Regions from separate parts of the Homo sapiens genome. Here region 2 is linked to region 1. The links are contacts of gene promoters, found by promoter capture Hi-C in human tissues and cell types (Jung and others, 2019). All regions are on one chromosome and are shown on one strand. Each heading gives the region's core, a stretch centred on a gene start or on the middle of the fragment in contact. The rest is flanking DNA. Distances are from core to core; before and after follow the strand shown. Region 1 holds the start of SGCG (sarcoglycan gamma). Region 2 has its middle 130 kb from the start of LINC00621.

Evidence for each region. The method cuts DNA at HindIII sites, captures the fragments that hold promoters and counts their contacts. A contact is called where the count stands out against the background at its distance.
Region 2: a contact is called between a fragment that was not itself captured here and the fragment with the promoter of SGCG in region 1, in 1 of the 25 tissues and cell types used here (mesendoderm cells).

Annotation. Positions count from the first base shown.
Region 1 is chr13:23,179,273-23,182,679 of GRCh38, reverse strand. SGCG (sarcoglycan gamma) reads right to left here and starts at 1,701. Exons shown (of 8, transcript NM_000231.3): 1 at 1,605-1,701. The HindIII fragment of the contact is 3,028 bases long and covers 1,143-3,407 here.
Region 2 is chr13:22,781,181-22,784,309 of GRCh38, reverse strand. No RefSeq gene overlaps it. Among named protein-coding and RNA genes, the nearest start is that of LINC00621, 130 kb to the left of the region's middle. The HindIII fragment of the contact is 5,837 bases long and covers 1-3,129 here.

The DNA.
Region 1 (3,407 bases), core at 452-2,951:
TTACTAAATACTCCTGTACCAGTGTTCCCATAAAACTATCTACAGCATAACATATAAAATTAAAAATGAAGCTGGAATCCAAAATGGCCAAAGTAGCAAGTGATGGATCCTGCAATCCTCATGAGAACGTCGTAGAACTATCTGGCCCTGCAGTAGGTCTGGAGAAGAATAAAGCCAGACAGGTGCTATAGAGGCTGAGAGAAGGGGAGGGAGGGAGGGAGAGACAGGAAGGTGTCATGAAGGTCAAGGTGGGTTCTGAAGGAGCAGGAGAGTAGCAGAGTCATCCTCAGGACGCTGTAGTTTCTCCCCTCCCACTGGGAAACCACAGCCCTGGTGCCTCAAGCTGAGAAGACACAAGCGCTGTGATGAGCCACAGATTAGGGAGTGGAGGGAGATCCTCAGGCCCTATAAGTTATGCAAAACTGAACACATTGGGAACCCACTATAATTTACAACTATCATTTAATTTTTAATGCAATTTAATAACAACTTAGTTTAATGACTAGCAAGTACATTTTTTAAAGGACAATATGGAACAATTTCATTTTCCGCATTTTAACTGCAAGCTTAGCTGATATCTTTTGGACACCTGAATTTGTTAGTCTTTGGAATGCTATATCTAACTACATTGAAATGCTACTTTTCATTTGTCTTTGAAAGACAATCTGAAATGAATCCTAGAACCTATAAAACGAACCCCAACTTGTAGCATTACTTTTTAAATTCCACAAAGGTGCCTTTTTGTACCTACAAAATGTTTGCAAGAAAATAAGCAAAAAACAAACGGTGTATTCCGTAGTTCGTTTTTGTACTGGTCTGCTGGCAAATCTTTCAGTCAGCTGAGTTATATTTTTCCGTATTATTTTTTTCTAATCCTTCCTTTAAAAAAATTGTGTTTGCTAGTTGTCATGTATTAATTTAGAAAACGCAAAGAAAGAACTCATAACTTCAGTAAGCTGAAGCATTAGCACATGTGTACTTTTACCCCACTTATGTTTATTTTTTCATACATATTTTGAGCAGTATTTTATATTTTCCAGATTTAGGGAAAGAAACATTCTTCCCTTTTCACTCCAAAAATAGTGAAGGAGTCAGGTTGCTATTTTGCTCTTGTTTTGTTTATTTCCAACTTATAAAACCACTGGACTTTTGTTGTCATTCATTTTAGTTTATTTCTTAGTGTCTATAACAAAACTATCAAGAAAATCTAAAGCAAATGTAATTCTACCACTAAAGTTTAAGAGCAGAATTAGAAGTAGGTGATCTTAAAGATAATACTTTGTTTAAATTAACTACAGGATCCAATTCAATGCCCAATAATACAGAAATGCTACCTTTGGCATTCTACAAATTAAAAATGTTAGAAATATAGGATTATGCTAAAAATATGTAGCATATTTGTAGTCAGAATAACTTAGTTGAAATGAGAATTTCATTGATACTTGATATGTCATTATGTTGTGATACACCAATTTATTCAACATTATTTTAAATTTATTATTATGCCACCAAAGAAGAAAGAATATTAAGAAACCTCTTAAGCGTTTGGTTTTTAGGTAGTACTTTGTACTGATATAAAATCTAAGTTAAAACTGAGCACTTACCTTAGATATTAAGAAAAGCACACTGGCGAATGAACTACAGCTGGCCCGAGCTCTACCACAGACAGAATGTTTCAAACTTTTCTATGACTTACAGAATGAGAGCAAAGGATGAAGCTTCAGCAACTGTCCCTGGAGAAAGGGCTCTCACGAGTTTCGCCCTGTCTCATGTTTCATCCCCTCACATTAGCAACAGACGTGTCTAATTTTACTCAGTGACATAAACAGTTCATACCACACTTAAAATTTTTTGGGCACCAATTCCAGGACACAGCTCTTCGCATGCCAAAAACAAACCAAAACAAACAAACAAACAAGAAACCAAACTCTTCTTCTTACAAAACCAACTTTCCAACATTTAAACCCTAAAGCATGATAGTTTAATGTAATTATAACTTTCTTAAAAAAACTTTACCTCAAACAAACAGCAGAAAACTTCTAAGACTGGTTTCCATTAGAAACTAATGTTGATAAAATTTTACGAAAAATCTCTTCAAATTAACATGCAAGTTAGAACTTGTGACTATTACCTATATACTAGTCTCATCCAAATGAACGGCATATTACCATGTAACAGTGACTCTTTAAAAATCACTTTCCCTAAGCCTCTTTAAGTGAAAAACTTTTAACATCTGAGGAGAAAATCTTAAACAAAGATCACCATAATAGAAGGTAAACAAACTCTGCATGTTAAAATTATGACAGTTCTTTTCTAGTAAACTAACATTTCTATTGTGTTTAACAAATTATGTGAATGTAACAAATGTGACCTTAAATTGTCTTTATGTTTATTTAAGAGTAATTAGGTCATTCCATTTTATAAGGTGTAAAGACAACAGAATAAATATCGAACTTCTGAATAATTTTAATATTTTATTTTGCATTATTTTTATGTGACCTGGTTTGCAGCAGGATTAAAACTTACTAAATTATATACTTCATATTTGCATTTTAGTACTAAACCTTGAATATAAGAAGCAGTGCCTTAGTATACATGCACACAGAGATGGGAACAATCAGATACTGGGGCCTGCTTGAGGAAGGAGGGAGGGAGAAAGGTGGGGTTCGGAAAACTGTCTATCGGGTACTGGGCTTACTACCTGGGCGATGAAATTATTTGTACATCAAATCCTGGTGATATGCAATTTATCTGTGTAACAAACCTGCACATGTACCCCTCGAACCTGAAATAAAAAATGAAGAAAAAAAGGAGCAATGCAATAACAATGCATATGCTTCATTCTCATTTTATTTTCTTCTCAGGAGACTTTTCTCTTCATTCTGCTTATTTATACTCTACCATAATTTCTTTTGAAATTTGATACTTCTATCATACCAGCAGCTGCAGGCCTTAAATTACAAGCTGATACAGCTTCAAATAATCTTACATTTGTAAGACATTTTAAAACCTTTCATGAATTCTCTGCACATTAGTACTTCTACTTTGGGAATTCAGCTAGACATAAAATTATAGGACAACTATCAATTTTAAACAAAAATAATATATTAAACAATAATGATATGAAATGTATTTTTGTATGAGTGTATGTCTGAAAAGTCAAAGTCTGAAACTGCTAACTCAATATTCTGATTGAAATGTCATGCATGTAAAGGTTACAATTGAGATACCTCTTCATCAATCGTAAATTGGTTTTGTTGCAATGAACTTTTCAGTGTTTTGGGAACTGCTTTGTAAAAATGTTAGTCAGGTGATGTGTTTGATCCCCACTCATATTTACAGATTCATTTAATACTATCCACACCTATGTTTAGTAGGGCAGAAGAATCACATAAAGAAGCCTTTGA
Region 2 (3,129 bases), core at 553-3,052, 400 kb after region 1:
CCAACACTTGCTATTTTTTGTCTTTTTGGCAATAGCGATTCTAACAGGTGTAAGGTGACACCTCACTGAGGTTTTGATTTGCATTTTCCTCATTAGTGATGTTGAATATAGTTTCATATGCCTGTTGGCCATTTGTATGTCTTCTTTTATGAAATGTCTGTTTAGGTCCTTTGCCCATATTTTTGCTTTTATTTTTCATTGGCATCTACTAATTGTACTTTGCCTGTTTTTTAATCAGGTCATTTGTCTTCTTACTGTTGAGTTGATTGAGTTCCTTATATATTTTGCATATCAACCACTTATTAGATACACAGTTTGCAAATATTTTCTCCCACTCTCTACATTTTCTCTTCACTCTCTTGGTTTTCTTTTTTTTTTTTTGCTGTGCAGTTCTTCATTTTGATGTAATGCTATTTGTTTATTTTTGCTTTTGCTGCCTGCACTTTTGGGGTCATATCCATAAGTTATTGCCCAGAGCAACTCCATGGAGCTTTTCCCCTATTTTTTTCTAGTAGCATCATAGTTTGGGGCCTTACATTTCAGTATTTAAGCCATTTTGAGTTGATACTTGTATATGGTATGGAATAAGGATTTAATTTCATTCTTCTGCATATGGACATCCAGTTTTTCCAACACCATTTATCAAAGAGACTGTTTTTTCTGCATTGTGTGTCCTAGGTGTTTTTGTTAAAAGGTAAAATTTTTATCATCCCATTTTTGTTGTAAGAAAATTGTAGGGCCGGGCTCGGTGGCTCACACTTGTAATCCCAGCACTTTGGGAGGCTGAGGCAGGCGGATGACAAGGTCAGGAGATCAGGAGATGGAGATAATCCCGGCTAACATGGTGAAACCCTGTCTCTACTGAAAATACAAAAGATTAGCCAGGCTTGGTGGTGGGCATCTGTAGTCCCAGCTACTCAGGAGGCTGAGGCAGGAGAATGACGTGAACCTGGGAGGCGGAGCTTGCAGTGAGCGGAGATCACACCACTGCACTCTAGCCTGGGTGACAGAGTAAGACTCTGTCTCAAAAAAAAAAAAAAAAAAAAAAAGAACATTGTACTTTAGAAGCTTTAATTCATATGTAAGATTGCCAAGCTATTAATGACTTATCATTCTGACCTCGATCTCCCTGGCTCCTGAGTCTATACACTTTGTCAAGACTAAAAGTGAAAATTAAAATGATGGCTCAGAAAGGGCAACATTTTGTAATAATCTCAGGATATGCCTCTGTGGTTCCCCAGGGTTTCTTGAAGTATTGAGATCACTGACCTACATGAATACCTTCCTAAGTCCTTGCAAATAAGAGCAAAGTGGGTTATCAACATGTTCCCTCCAAATCCAATAAGCATCATACTGTGTCAAAACTTATTGCAACATGATTGAACCATCATATAGTCCATACAACTGTAACTAAAGTATTTGGACAAATTGAACAGAATCTCTAAGAATCCCCATGCCACAGTCTGTTTCTGTACTGTGCAGGGACCCCAAGGGGAGAACATGAGAACTCAGAGTAGGGGAAAAGGTTCATATATTTGCACTCTAGCTTGGCCGCCAATTGGAGCCAACGGTTAGGACAAGAATAAGCCACGTGTAGGCCGGGCGCTGTGGCTCACGCTTGTAATCCCAGCACTTTGGGAGGCCGAGGCGGGCAGATCACAAGGTCAAGAGATCGAGACCATCCTGGCTAACACGGTGAAACCCGATCTCTACTAAAAAAAAATTAGCGGGCGTGGTGGTGGGCACCTGTAGTCCCAGCTACTCAGGAGGCTGAGGCAGGAGAATGGCATGAACCCTGGAGGTGGAGCTTGCATTGAGCGGAGATGGTGTTACTGCACCCCAGCCTGGGCGACAGAGGGAGACTCCGTCTCAAAAAAAAAAAAAAAATTAATATCAAATTTTATTGAGAGGCTCAAATGGAAAAACATAAATAAGAGTGCAAAATCTAATATGTAATGCACTAAATAAATGCAAACGACTTTTTAAAGTTTTAATTCAGTGTATAATTCAGTGGGTTTTAGTATATTCAGAGTTGTACATCTATCTCTATAGCGTAATTTTAGAATATTTCATGACCCCTCAAAAAGCAACCCTGTGTCTATGTACTCATTAGCAATTACTCCACACCTTATCTCTCAGTCCAGCCCTAGGCAACCACTAATCTACTCTCTATGTCTATGGATCTCCCTATGTTGGACATTTTAAGTAAATGGAATTATATACTCTATGGTCTTTGTGTCTGGCTTTTCTCACCTAGTCTAATAAAGTTTTCAAGGTTCATCCATGTCGTGCCATATGTTAGTACTACTTCATTGCTCATGGCCGAATATATTCCATTGAATGGATCTGCCACATTTGTGTATCCATTCATCAGTTGATGAATAATTGGATTATTTCCACTTTGGGGCCAATATGAATAATGCAGCTGAGTGTGTATACATTTTCTTTTCTTTTCTTTTCTTTTTTTGAGACAGAGTCTCGCTTTGTCGCTCAGGTTGGAGTGCACACTAGAGTGATCTCTGCTCACTGCAAGCTCCGCCTCCCGGATTCACGCCATTCTCCTGCCTCAGCCTCCCGAGTAGCTGGGACTACAGGCGCCCATCACCACATCCGGCTAATTTGTTTGTATTTTTTTAGTAGAGACAGAGTTTCACCATGTTAGCCAGGATGGTCTCGATCTCCTGACCTCGTGATTCACCCGCTTCGGCCTCCCAAAGTGCTGGGATTGCAGGCGTGAGCCACCACGCCCAGCCGAGTGTGTATACATTTTCATGTGGAAATGTTTTCGTTTGTTTTGGGTATGTGCCTAAGAATTGCTGAGTCATATGGTAATTACATATTTCACAGTTTGATAAACTACCAAACTATTTCCAAAATGACTGCATCATCTTATATTCTCACTGGCAACATATGAGGATTTCAGTTATTTCTCCACATCCCATCATTACTTGTCATTGTCTTTTTTATTATAGTCATTTTATTGGGTATGAAAGTCGTATCTCATTTGATTTTGATTTACATTTCCCTAATGTCTAAAGATGTTAGATGTTGAGCTTTTCTTCATATCCATATTGGCTGTTTATCTTTCTTTCAGAAATTCAGAAAGGTCTATTCAAATCATTTATTTGA